Regions from separate parts of the Homo sapiens genome. Here regions 1 and 3 are each linked to region 2. Evidence: promoter capture Hi-C in 16 types of primary human blood cells and fetal thymus (Javierre and others, 2016). All regions are on one chromosome and are shown on one strand. Each heading gives the region's core, a stretch centred on a gene start or on the middle of the fragment in contact. The rest is flanking DNA. Distances are from core to core; before and after follow the strand shown. Region 1 has its middle 18 kb from the start of ZNF80. Region 2 holds the start of CD47 (CD47 molecule). Region 3 overlaps USF3 (upstream transcription factor family member 3).

Region 1 (4,748 bases), core at 853-3,352, 6.1 Mb before region 2:
CATCTTGGATGTGGCCAAGATGCTCTGAAGCATCTTGGATAGTGACAATGCATGTGTGTCTGCACCTGAATTCTTAGAGCTGTGATTGATCTCAAGAGCAAACTGGCATAGCTGCCATCTAAGCTAACATGAGGGAAGGCTGCTCTCAGACATGAAGCTCCCATAATGCTCACTTGTTTTTCGGTGTATAGTTGTCTTTATATGACCAACAGGTGACCCTTTTTACCTACTTCAGGCCTTTCCTGGTACATTAACCAGTCAAGTCAAAGAGCCTAAACATGCTGAGACCCTGAATCGGCCACTGTGGCTTTCAAATACACTGGATTGTCTGGCCTGTGATTTATCTGAAAACGAATCACAAATGGAGCCATGAGTCATTTTCAGCAACCGAGGCTTTAGCGTCAAACAGTAAATTCTGAGAAACCAATTTCCGCTGTGGGCAGAACCCAGCTCCTGGTGTCTAATCATTTGTCCAAGCCTCAGAATGGAGGAAGCTGATGAAATACTGTGACGGGTCCAGCCTGGACAGGATTTGCTTAGGGGATTTCAAAACTTGGAAGGAAAAGTGGAATCCCTTGTCCCTACCTCTCAGTGGAAAGGGGTGAGGACAGGCCCTTGGCGCACACATTCATTCTCCATTCCCAGAGAATTGGGCAGGAATAAGGCCTGCAGAAGAAAGGAAATGACTGCTGGACCACAAGAAAGGTGGGCAGGAACTGAAACAAAAGGTCATTCCAGATCTTCTCCCTGTGGCTCTCTCTCCTGTTCTCTAACAAGAGAAGAAAAGCAACCTGAGCAAGTCCAGCCTCTACTCTCCTCTTTGCAGCAGCTTGTTTCTGCCGCCAGTTGGGCTCTTTCTCTCCAGTCTCAGAGGAAAACGAGGAAAGCATAGCCCTTTGCTCACATCAATCTGTCTACCTGTGCCCCTGAGCTTGATCTTTCCACATCCAATAATAATGGCCAACACTTCCTACACCCTGACCACACCCTTTACACAAAGGGTCTCACGCAATACTCCCAACAGTCTCATGGACTGGAATACTGTTAGTACCTCCATGTTACAGAAGAGGAAACTATGGCACACAGAGGCGAAGTCATTCATCCACAATCATCATCCCCTGCATAGATGTAGAGCTGGAATGTAAACCCAGGTATTCCGACTTCGGAACCCATAGGCTTAGCCTCTACACTGCACTGCTTCCCAGGCAGAAATGAAGCTTAATCATAAAAGCTTCATTTACAGAACACAGGTTCTCTATAGGAAATTTGGGAAAACATAAAGAAGGCACAAAAAATAAATAAGTAAAAATCACCCACAATCCCACCACTTCTACCTTTTTGAGAAGGATATAAATTAAAAAGTGAGAATCCTTTCTTATTTCTGACTTCAGCACTCAAATGTATCCACTGTCCTCTCAGACTGTTTTCCTCTGTTTATACAATTACATATAGGCACATGCACACATGTACAGTGTTTCTTAATAAGACTGCACACTGCACAAGATTTTTTTGCACATTGCTTTTTTCACTTAATATAACACATCTATTCAAACCTTGTGAAATGACTGGTAGTAAACCACTGCTGCCGAACCATAATTTATTCAACAAGTGCTATAATAAATTTGTTTGTCCCTATATCTTTATATACCCATGCTAGTAGTTCTGTAAGATACATTCCAACAAGTGACTGGTAAGATGTGCATTTTCATTTTGCTAATTGTCAAATTACACAGGGAATCCTTAACTCTTTATAATGGCAAAAAAAGAGAGTCGTTGGTAATATGAATCTATATTGTGATGAACACTACACATTGTTTATTTAAGCGTTATTGTACACAAGACTGAATCAGTGATATAAAAGGGGTTTCTCATGTACATTTCTAACCCTTCTTCACTGACAAACTGGAGAAACACTTTCGCCTATTGTGGGTAAGAAAATGTGTCTCCTTCTGACCCTTCTGGAGTTCTCCTACTGTGACATCCTTTTTCTCTCTGACAAATGGGTGCCGTTCTTGCCCACATTAGTTCACATTGTCTCTTTCTTGTAAGGTGACTTTATTTTATTTACTATTTTTTTTGAAAATATACATTCTCAGCACCTGCACTTGTTCAAAAATACTTCAAATGCCAAATCCTTACCAACAACTCTCCTCAGATGGCTGCTCCCTCCAGTACAGTCTGCCAGGGAAATACTTGCTGCTGATTTTTCTGTCCGCTTGCCTGACCCTGCACCTCTGCTCTCTAACTTGCAAATCTGAGGGCTCTGTGTTATGTAGTCAGCAAAGAGGAGGGGAACGTCACTCCTTTTTCAGGAACAGAACATTCCAGATTGAGCTGAGATTCAAAACAGACCATTTGACTCTTCCTGGTCAATGTCTTCAACTTTCCACCTCTGTCTGTTTGCCATCCCTCCCAGAGGGATTTCCCCCTTAGCCTGCTAGCACACTCTCTGCCCTGTCAGCCAAACACGCATCTCCTCAGGGACCCTGCACTTGTCCTTCACCCACTGTGGTCAGATAAGCCCAGGAGTCCCACTCTTCACACCTTTACTTGAACCAGCATCTCCATGCATTAATTATGACCCCTGCCTGAGAGGCAGTGTAACCTAATCCAGAGCATGTGGGGCTTTGGAATCAGAAAGTTTGAAGTTCAAATCCTGATGCTTAGCCCTGTTGCCTGTGTGATCTTAGGCAAGGCATTTGACTTCCCTCTTCTTCAATTTCCTCAATTATTAAATAAGTATAATAAAAAATGAACTCACGGGAAGGTTGAAAGCATGTAGTATATATTGTCTGACACACGCAGACTTGTAACACTTTGTAGCTATTCTTAATATCATTCCACAGCCAAATTTTTCAGATGAGGCGTTATTGGTAATGTCATATAAAATTTTAGGATTGTTTCAAATTTGGGAATTCTATCAAGTTTCTTTCATACACGAGCCTTGAAAGAGGCTCCAAATCTTAAAGCTTCATTAGCTTCAGAGTAAACACACCCTCTGCAGGTGGTATGTGATGAACTGGGACACTTATGCATGACTGAAGGTAGTGTGACTAATACAGCCCTTGCACAGAGGGTCGCATCTCCACGAAGGGGACAGCCAGGATCTACAGTCTTTAAATACTTGTTCAGTCTCGGGAGACTGCTCTGCCAGCCTCCACCATTCTCAAACTGCGACGAGGGAGTGACTCAGATGAGGCCAGGTAGCTGGCCAGCCAGCTGGTGTGCAGTCACATTTGCAGAGAAGTCTATTTGCACCGAGGACATGCCAGGCGTGTTGTCACTCATACTAAGGTTTTCAACCTGGGCAAGTTATGAAATGTGTAGAGATTTTTGGTTATCGCAGTGCCTGTGGATGGGAGACTCTATCAACATGTAATGGGCACAGGCAACAGGTGTTCTATAACCCTGCACTGCCAGGGGCAGTCCCACCCAATAAAGAATCGTTCCTCCCAAAATGCCAATAACGCTCTTTTGGGAAACCATCTGTAGGGCTTAGACTTCAACATGCCTTAAGTATTGTTTCCCATCTCGGCGAGCTGGGCTAGAACATGGGATAAGCTGTTGGGACTCCTTTTGTCCCTCAGCTTGGAGGCTAGGTTACAATCATAGATGCCCCCTCCTGTCTCCTTCCCTGGACCCTATCTCCGTTCCCATTTGACTTCCAATGCAGAAGGAATGGAAGCCAAATTGATACTGTTCAATCTATAAAGCTTTGACTTCAAACCCCTATGTAATACCCTTGTAGGTGAGCTGTAATTTGGCATCTTGCCTCCAAGCTTATACACAAAGAGAAGCCAACTGAAAGAAAAACCAAGCCACCGAATCTTGGGATTCCTCAGGGGAATACCGCTCTCCAGCACCATTGTCCAAATGCCACTGATTCTCCCCCAACCCTGATCCCTTCCCCAGGGCTTGAAGTATGCCAAATATGGGAGGCCCCCTAGGTCTTATCAGAAGAACTCAAGAAAACAATAATTCTTGAGTCAACACTTCCTGAGTGCTCACTATGAGCCAGGCTCTGTGCTATTTTATATACACTATGTTACTTAGTCCCAAGTGACATAAAATAAAGCTCACATTAGAAAAAGACAAGACAATTTGTGCTAGTCCGGTCCCTTGGCATTAGTGGTTGAGGATTTCTTGAACTGGGGTGAGGCTATGCCCTGGGCCTTCCACACTCTCAGAATCCCTTAGGTATCTAAGAGGCTTGGGAAGGCAAAGCTGTCGCATTCATGATTTGGAGGCCCACACAACGAGGATTTATCTTTCACATGTCTTCTGCCATTAACAGAGATAAATCCAGGTATTGTCATTAGAGTAATGGCCTCTGTGAGTAAGAGGAGCTAAATAGAAAGTCAATGAATGTCAAATATCTTGAAAAATCTATTCACCATGAAGTCACCTTGTAATGTGCTCTCAGGAAACAATAACATCCATTTTCAACTCAGACACTACTCTCTGTGGTAAATAATATCACTAGGTGATTGTACCCTGTAAGTCCCCAGAAATTGTTTCTAATTATTGTCAGAGGCACATCAATTACCAATAGAGCCTCCAGGCAACCCTCCTCATAGCCCTGACTAGAAACATGTTTTACTTCCACTTCTTCTGTCAAGTCTCTCAGCTCCCTACATATTTAATTGTTCTGTCTTGGCTGTGGGCCTGTTTTCCTTACCCTCCTCTCTGAACTGTGCCTCTCATGGCTAAGTCAGCATCTGTGCTCACCCTCCTTGAGAAGCTCCTCA
Region 2 (4,296 bases), core at 724-3,223:
GCCTGCTTTTGCCCCACCACCAAAACATACCCCAGCTAGATTCCCAAGAGCAGCAGTGGTCACCCAGGTGGCCTCTCATTCCATTTTCTGCACAAAAAGACGTTAAGCATATAGCTCAGTAGCTCCCAGTGTAAAACAGAACATCACCCGATCTCCACCTCTGAAGGTTGGGGACAGTCCTTTCTAGTCACTCTTCAGCTTTAGGGGGGTTGGTTGGTATCAGGGACAGCTGACAGCCTTATTTAGCCAACCAGCTGCTCTGTGATACACAATGTCCCTAATGCTCAAAGTCTGGTGGATGATTCTTTTGTATCCACATAAGCAGCAGTTGGAGGAGAATCGATGAGTCCCTTTGGTTGCCTCGGGGTGTCAAGGCTGCCATTCAAATCATTACCACCATAATTATTAACCATTGTTTTAGTGAGATGTCTGCCAGGCAATTGTTTTTATTTTTCAATCATTAAAAAAGCAATCAAATTTCACTAGAGCAATGCCTGCCTCACGCCGCATCAACACATTTATTAAACCCCTTCTGTTTGCCGAGCTCAATGGAAAGTCTTGGAGGAGGGAATACTTAAAATGCTCTCGGATTTAAAAGAATTGATAATGCTGTGGGGAAGAGGTTCACACAAAAAAGCAATTACAGGAAGAAGCTCGATAGTATACAATACACTGGTACAGAGTGTCATAGACAGTGCCACTTTCATACGCTGGATTTTATTTCTGTGGCAATGGGATGCTTGGGAGGAGCCGCACTGTGTAGAGGATTTGGAGAAGTGGGGTATTGTGGTGGGAAATTGCTTTCTTTCCCAGGAGGTAGGAGGAAAACAATCAAGGAGGTGGACAGGATGTGCACTCCATTAGAGCAGCCACCAGAGCCTGACTTTTTGATAAGAGAGTACATCAGTTAGGATAACGGTTAAAAGTATCTTTAAAAGACTTTTGCTTCAGGATGAATGATGTGGCCTGTGTGATTCAGCGATAAATTCAAAAGCCTTGTCCCTATTGTGGCTTGCGGCCACATTTCGAACCCATTTTTCAAGCATGTTAAACCCAAGCGCAGCGCAGAGGGCTGCACATGGGGCAGTCACAAACCAAGCTCAATAACCTTGCTGGTGGGGATGTGTTGGATACGCTGCTAATGCCTGTTTGCGACAATGCTCGCTAGTCCCGGTGGTGGCGGTGTTCACAGGTAACAATGTTTACCACCGTGAATGGAACTTGTTTGATTAACCCTGATCAGAGGATGAAAACACTAAAGAACCAAGTGAGAAAGAGGGAAGAGAACCGCATAGGGAAGAGCAGAGCGAGTAGACGAGCCGAACGCAGAGCCCGCGAGGGGCGAGTGGAAGCTCCCTGCGGGCAGGTACCCGACCACCGCCCTGCCCTGGGCGTGGCGGCCTCGGGCTCAGGGACCGCTTCGGCGCTAGACGGCCGCGTCCGGAGGAAACGGGCGCTGGTGAAAGCCTAGGTGTCCTGGTCCACGCGCGCAGCCGGACGTCGGGTCCAGGGAGAGACGCGGGCTGGGGCGGGACGGGACCCGGCCCCTGAAGCGCGAGGGTGGGAGTGAAAGCAAAGAGGAGAAAAGTAGAGAGAGAGGACAGTGGGGCCCAGCGCCGCGCGAAAGGCAGGAACCGACCCGCGGACAGGAACGGGTGCAATGAGGTCCCCGGCGAGCGTGGGAACACAGGGTTCAGCCTCCTGCGGCGGGCGAGCACGCGGACCCCAGGGGCGGGCGGGTGCGACAGGACGTGACCTGGAAGCGCGGCGCGTGCCACCGCCCTGGAGCAGGCATCCGGCCTCCGTGGAGCGGGCAGGCGGGCCCCGGGTCTGGAGCCTGCGACTGGGGAGGGCGCCGCGTCAACAGCAGCGGTTGCGGGGCGGGGCCGAGTGCGCGTGCGCGGCTCTCGCGGGCGGGGAGCAGGCGGGGGAGCGGGCGGGAAGCAGTGGGAGCGCGCGTGCGCGCGGCCGTGCAGCCTGGGCAGTGGGTCCTGCCTGTGACGCGCGGCGGCGGTCGGTCCTGCCTGTAACGGCGGCGGCGGCTGCTGCTCCGGACACCTGCGGCGGCGGCGGCGACCCCGCGGCGGGCGCGGAGATGTGGCCCCTGGTAGCGGCGCTGTTGCTGGGCTCGGCGTGCTGCGGTGAGTGGCTCCTCGCTCCCAGCCCTGCGGCTGCTGTCGCTTCGCCCCCGCGGGCGTGTGGGCTGCGCCCCAGCCAGCCCGGCGGCGCCCTGAAGAGGGTGGCCGGGGCGCAGAACACTCGGGCCCTGAGCGCCCGAAGTGCAGACGTGGGAGGGCCCCACGGGGAATCGGGCGCCCCCCTTCTTCCTCCCTTCCTTTCCCTGGTCGTCTTCTTCCCCCTGGGTGAGAGCGGGGCTCATCTCCTCCACCCGGTTCTCCATCTCCAAATGCACACACACAGGAAGACTCCAAACCGCGCACCTCGCGCAAAAATTAACTAGCAAGAAAGGGCGCGATCAGAGGCAAGGGGCTGCAGCTGCTAGGGATCCCCTTCTTTCGCACCCCTCTCCCTTCTCAGTGCTTAGACGCATTTGGGGTTGAGGGAGGGAGAGTGGGAGGGCCCGGGCCTCTTGCGATGGAAGTGCGCATTTTGGCGAAGTCGGTGAGAAGGGGTTTCTGCCGTTTGCCTCCCACATGAACATAGGAGCGAAGAGGACGTAAAGGACACAATTAAGTTTCATTTTCAACTCAGCATTCAATCAGAAGAATCTTCCGGCCGTGTAATTTTTGCTGTCGTTTTTAATCCTAAAAATAAGCTTGCTGGAAACTCTTCCTTTCTCGTGACCCTCACGCCCCATCAGCCACTTGCATACATTCTAAATTGTACGTTGAAGTTTTTCCCACTTTATTTGGGGGAACCGTTTTAAAAGTAATCTGGTTTTCGCCTGAAATAGGAAGACAGTAACCTCCAGTCAAAACATGTGCAGCAGAATGGGATTTGGTGTTTTTCGACGCCAAAGAACCTCCACCCCCCCACCCCCACCCCGAGCTTTTGGAATCCATTTCGCTTTTGTAAAACGTGTGCTTCGTCTGTAAAAACTGAGCAAGGAATAGAAACATTCGTAGCTCTACAGTGAGTGCCTGTCACACTTCACATCCATAGAGCCTTTTGTGAACTTTTATAAGATTCAGAATTCAGCTTGAGCACCAGTGACAGCAATTGTTACATTTATTCTAGAATGCTAAATTAATTCGATTTTAAACTGATTATTAGCCTCGGTGTGCCGTTCCTAAAGGCTTGTGACTTTAGGTATTTCCAAGATGCCCTTAAGTCTCTGCTTACCACTTTCCTCCCTCCCCGAGCATCCTGGATGTTGGGACTGTGAATCCAGGTCTCCGTTATCTAAATGGTTGATGTTAGTGTTTCCTGTCATCACGTTTAGTATGCTTGTTGCCTTTACTATCATTATAGCTAAAATAATACTGCTTTCAGAGATGTGTTGTATAATCGCATAATAATTTCAGAACGCCTTCATATTGAACCAGATATGAAGTGATACAGTATCATTTATTCAAACTGCCTAAAAAGTAAAAAGTATAAACCATATACTATTTTTAAAACAGGTAGGTTAGATTTAAATCACGTAGTTTAGAACTGTTGGAATGGTACTTTGAGTGATAGGATTTATGTTAGGCCTTCTTTAGTAATAGTTAATATCATGTAATTAGCACTCGTTTACACACAATTTTAATGTGTTCGAATCCCTAGAGTCATCGAATTCAGAATTTATAGTATTTTATTTTACTTAGTTAATATTAACCTAAAAAAAAAGCAAAATACAGGCATTATGCAGTTGAGTTGTGTTAAGTGTGGACTGTAAAACAGGATAGTATTTGTTATAAAATATGTTTTTGTATGTGTTTAATATATAGCTTCAAAAGGACATGTATGAAGAAAGATGTCTCAGCACATAGGTAGTTATAAACCAAGGGTTTGAGAGACTGACTTTAGAATCTAGAATGAGTAAGAAAGTGATGGATCTGTACATTCATTTGTATTGAAGTTTGATTTTGCTTTCAGTTTCGTTAATTAAGCCCCGGGAATCAGGGACCTTTCCTGGCACCCTCTACAGTGTTAGTGGCCTTTGTGGTAAAAGAAGTTATCTCAGATACTCATTTCATGCAATTACAGGCAAACTGGAAGGCACCTTAATGGTATGCAAGATGTGAAATGAATTACTATGTTGCATTCCACTCTGCCCCCACTCATGTACAATTATACTTTGTTTAAAAGTGCATAGTTTCAGTGGTATTTATTAGCTAGCAAATAAAACTT
Region 3 (4,672 bases), core at 1,225-3,724, 5.6 Mb before region 2:
GGTTAGTCGTCTATGGAACATCGTGGAAGTAAAATTCTAAGGTTGTAGACCTTACACTCAATGAACCAGTCATGTATGAGAAATTGATGGGTACTTTTCCTATTTTCAGAGCTTAGCCTTGTCAACAAGGGAAAAGAAACACTAAGAAAACTGAGAATTTTTAACTCAGGTTAGAATACAAGCTTCAACAGGTAATCAGCTCAAGTTTGTTGCTTATAAACAGGGTCTTAAATCAAGCTTGAGCCTTAATCATATCTGTCATGCTTTACCTCTCTGTTCTCTAGTCCAGTAGTTCTCAATCCAGACTGTACATGAGCATCACCTTGTGTGTCTTTAAGTTTTAATGCCCAGGCCACTTCCCTCAGAAACTCTCTTATTTTTGATCTGGAGTAAAGCTCTGCCATGGGCATATTTTTTAAAGCTCTCCAGGTGATTCTGTTCAGTAGCCCTGGCTGAGAACTCCCATGAGACTACGTCCAAAAGCTAAGCTTGTGTTCTGGGCTTTCCTAAATCAGGCCTCACTCATGTGTCCAACTTTCCCCCCACTGCTTTTGCTACAGACGTTGACGTTGACCTTTCTCAGGATATGGACACCTTTCCTCTATTCCTCCCTACCGCCAATAATAGTTCTAATTACACTTTTATGAAAGTTTTCTGGATAGCTTACTCTAGTTCTTAGTGATCGACCCCCTTTGAACTTCTATGCTACATGGTTAAAAGATTCTCTTTAGGCTTACGGTATGTGGCAGTTTAAGTTCTATGTGTATGTGTTTCATTGTTCTCAAATGTTATGCTAAGGAATATTTTATTTTTCATCTCTTTCACAGTGGTTTTAAGTTGGATTGGTTTGGTTTGGAACCCTTCTGACTCTTCCTGCAACCATAGTTTTAGGTTTGATTTCATCTTAGGTATGTTAGTAGCTTCATCATACCTTAACTAGCATTGAATTCCTGTATAGACATCCGTTTTTTTCATATCTTTTCTTAATTTCATTAGTAGATGATTTATCTTCCGTGGCCCCGTAACAGTTGTACTTGTTTCTGTGCTAGCACTTAGCACACTGCCATAAGTATGTGTTTATATGCCTTCCCCACCATACTGCTAACCAGGGCCTCCATGTTGAGCAACTCCAGGGGGTACCATTCACATATTCTTGAATACCATTGCAACATGGCAGAAATAGAACTCCACTAACATAGGAAATGTGTTCTTTTTATCTTTGTATTTTTGGGACCTAACATTGTATTTGTGATTACTAGGCAGTTAATAAATGTTCTTAAATGAGTAAATGACTGCCATGTTATATATTATAAAAAGATAGCCATATACATCTTGAACGTAAGTTGATTTGGCATTAATTGATTTTGCTATTAAATATTTTTATGTCCTATACTCCTATTATAGATTTGTTAAAGGTTAGTAGAATCTAAGTGATTGTAGTTGTGACAGACCCCTTAAATATGTAATCTTCCTTCCAGTATGCACAGGCATATATGTGTCCTGAGTCTTTTACTCTGTGCTGTAAAGGTATACATTTATTATTCATAAAATATTTGTGGAACTCTTGCTAAAAGAAACGTGGTTAACTGTCCAATTGGATAATTTTTCTTTTTCTCATTAAAATTTCCATATGGGGACAATTGCACTACTTCAGAAGGCCAGATCTTTTAATTAGATCAGTAGGACATGATAAGTTGTTTCTATTAGTGTGCTAATACTGTGTTTTTAATTCAGTTCACCAAGTATTTATTATTTACCATGTGCCCAACACTGTTAGGTACTGAAGAGAATACAGAAATAGTAAATGGTGGACTCAGCTCATAAGAACGTTTTAGACTTATTAGGATTGTTTAAGGAACTCAATGGAGTATTCATTAGATGCTAAATTAAACATAAGTATGTAAAATCTATGACATAATGATTAATACAAAAAAAAGGAAAGACCAGATATTCTTTCAGCAGACATTTATTACTCAGTTACTGAGTGCTAATTGTTGAGGATACAAACATGAAATTTTTTTTCATGTTTGTATTCTCAGTAATATGAATAATATGAATTTTTTACATATTTGTATTCTCAATAATTAGCACTCAGTAATGGAGTAATAAGTTTCTACCATTTATTATAGTCTGGTGGTGAAAACTAGTAAGTATATAGATTGTATTTCATGTTAAGACATTGTGGAGTATTAGGATGTTTGGGAGTATGAAGAAGGGTATTTAGTCTAACCTCTAAGGCAGGGGTCCCCAAGTGGCCTGTTAGGAATCAGGCCGCACAGCAGGAGATGAGCTACCCTCCTGTCAGATCAGCGGCAGCATTAGATTATCATAGGAGTGCGAGCCCTATTCTGAACCACACATGCAAGGGATCTAGGTTGCATGTTCCTTATGATCATCTAATGCCTGAGATAGATGGAACAGTTTCATCCTGAAACCATCTGCTCCACTCCCTGTCCATGGAAAAATTGTCTTCCACGAAACCAGTCCCTGGTGCCAAAAAGGTTGGGACCACTGCTCTAGGGGTCAGAGAAATCTTTAAAGAGGATAATGAAGAGTTCTCAGGAATTCCTTAAACAGCAGAAACCAAAGAGAAGGAGATAAGGAGAAGAAATTGTAGTGTCACCGCTGTCTACCTCTGTGTCATTTGAGGGACCAGTTTCTCTTTGGTTATAAACAATAGAGATTGAATTTGGCTAAGCAGCAAATGGATACTGGATAAACTCACAGAAAGAAAGGGAGATAGAATAATGAAGGCTTGGGAAGGCCAGGAAAACAGAAGCTCCCAGGATCATAAGGATCCATGGGGCTAACTCAGCCTCAGCAAGATATTCTCCTTGTGCAGGGAGTCTTATTAGTTAGCCCCATGCCCACCCCAGAGGTGAGCCTGTGTTTGATGGTCCTATCAGATTTCAGGAATGGGACAGAGAAGATCTCCGAAGGAAAGGCAGGATATTATTGTCAGAAGGCCAAAACAACAGATTTATTACAAAGTTCATCGGATTTGGCAGTGTGGAAGTCTTTTGTTGAGCTTGGTTTAAGCAGTTTTAGGAATAAAAGTCAGGTAACAGCTGGTTGAAGAGTGAATAAGAAGTGAGGAAGAGGGGGTAGTAAGTGTAAACAACTTGTTCAAGAAGACTGGTGGTTGGGAGGAAGAATGGGGACACCTGTGGGGAGTTGCAAGGTCAGGAGAAAAATCAGTTTAGGTTTTTACATGGAAAAAGTTGAATAAGGATTTATTTTTATTTTTGTTGAGATGGGATCTCACTCTGTCTCCCAGGCTGGAGTGCAGTGGTGCGATCTTGGCTCACTGGAACCTTCGCCTCCTGGGCTCAAGCCATCCTCCTACCTCAGGCTCCTGATTAGCTGGGATTACAGGTTTGCAGCACCACACCTGGCTAATTTTTTGTATTTTTGGTAGAGATGGGGTTTTGCCTTGTTTCCCAGGCTGGTCTCAAACTCCTGAGCTCAAGTGAGCCACCTCCCTTGGCCTCTCAAAGTGCTGGGATTACAGGTGTGAGCCACCGTGCCTGGCCCTGAATAAGGATATTTTTAATGGAAAGGCACTAAGAGAGAAGGAGGGATTAATAATATATGAGAGAAAAGGGACATTATGTAAGAAGTTTACTAAGTAGCGAGAGTGATAGAGTCCAGAGTATAGGTAGAGGGTTTAGTTTTGCTAGAAATATTAGGGAAGATTTTATATAGGAGGATAGACTTGCACCGGACTTTAAAGGGTTGGTAGGATTTGGATAAACAGAGCAAAGTGGAAAGGTCATTTCAGTGGGAAAATAGCATGAATTTAGCATAAAGTGAAGTAGCTGATAAGGCGCACAGGGATAAACCTGTCTGAATTGAAGAGGAGGGAAGGGTAGATGGCATAATTAGCTAGAAAACCTGCTTTTATGTGTGTTGTACTAGGTGGAAGGGGGTAGGTGAGACCTGCCAGTGAAGAAGGTACAGTCATGAATGCCAAGACCTGGAGTTTGGATATGATGCAGTTGATTGTGGGAAATAGTACTGTAGAGTCTGCAGCAGGAGAGGACATGGTAAATATGGTGAACTGAAAAGACTGATGAGACATTGGGGTATAAAATCCATCAAATGGGAGAAAGGCTGAGGGCAATAACAAAGACTGCTTAAGGCCAGACGTGTAAAATGGGGCCTAATCTAAGGTGGTCATAACAAAGGGGAAGAGATGAACATTATGAAAACAATTGATAGAATTTGGTGAGAAGATATGAAGATTTTTGGGTCTAGATCCATGTTAAACTTTTGGTGTCATTGATAAAATGGAGAACTTGGAAATAGATCTCTTAAGAGAAAAGGGAATTTAACACATTCCAAACAGACTTGTTAATTTGTTCAAAATGCAGTGTTCTGAAGAGAGCTTTGCCTAACCAAAGATTAGGGGCAAAGTCAGAGTTGAAAGGTAGCTTTCTTACAAAAACATAAAAGCTTTTGCACAGAAGCAGTTTAAACCTTTGTAGGGAAAAAGCAAACCTGAAAAAGAGAAGAGATTGTTGGGCCTTGGAACTCAAAGGAGAAAGAAAAGCGTTCATGTTAGAGAAAGAGGATGCATAATTGGAGAGGAGAAAGATAACCTAGGAGAGAGAATTTCAAGAAAGAGAGAGATCAGCAGCCTCAAATCCTGCCAAGAGGAAAATGACCTATG

The links. Contacts are between HindIII fragments. The CHiCAGO score rates a contact against its expected background, and 5 or more counts as called.
Region 1: a fragment that was not itself captured here is called in contact with the fragment with the promoter of CD47 in region 2 in 1 of 17 cell types (activated CD4 T cells); the score reaches 6.1 in activated CD4 T cells.
Region 3: a contact is called between a fragment that was not itself captured here and the fragment with the promoter of CD47 in region 2, in 1 of 17 cell types (neutrophils). The highest score is 5.9, in neutrophils.

The regions. Positions count from the first base shown.
Region 1 is chr3:114,217,402-114,222,149 of GRCh38, reverse strand. No RefSeq gene overlaps it. Among named protein-coding and RNA genes, the nearest start is that of ZNF80, 18 kb to the left of the region's middle. The HindIII fragment of the contact is 1,738 bases long and covers 1,234-2,971 here.
Region 2 is chr3:108,088,708-108,093,003 of GRCh38, reverse strand. It overlaps CD47 (CD47 molecule), which reads left to right and starts at 1,973. Exons shown (of 11, transcript NM_001777.4): 1 at 1,973-2,141. The coding sequence starts at 2,096. RefSeq lists silencers at 1,360-1,419, 1,430-1,479, 1,500-2,249. The HindIII fragment of the contact is 8,318 bases long and covers 1-2,778 here.
Region 3 is chr3:113,689,767-113,694,438 of GRCh38, reverse strand. All of the region lies in intron 1 of USF3 (upstream transcription factor family member 3), which reads left to right. Among named protein-coding and RNA genes, the nearest start is that of USF3, 4.5 kb to the left of the region's middle. The HindIII fragment of the contact is 3,967 bases long and covers 491-4,457 here.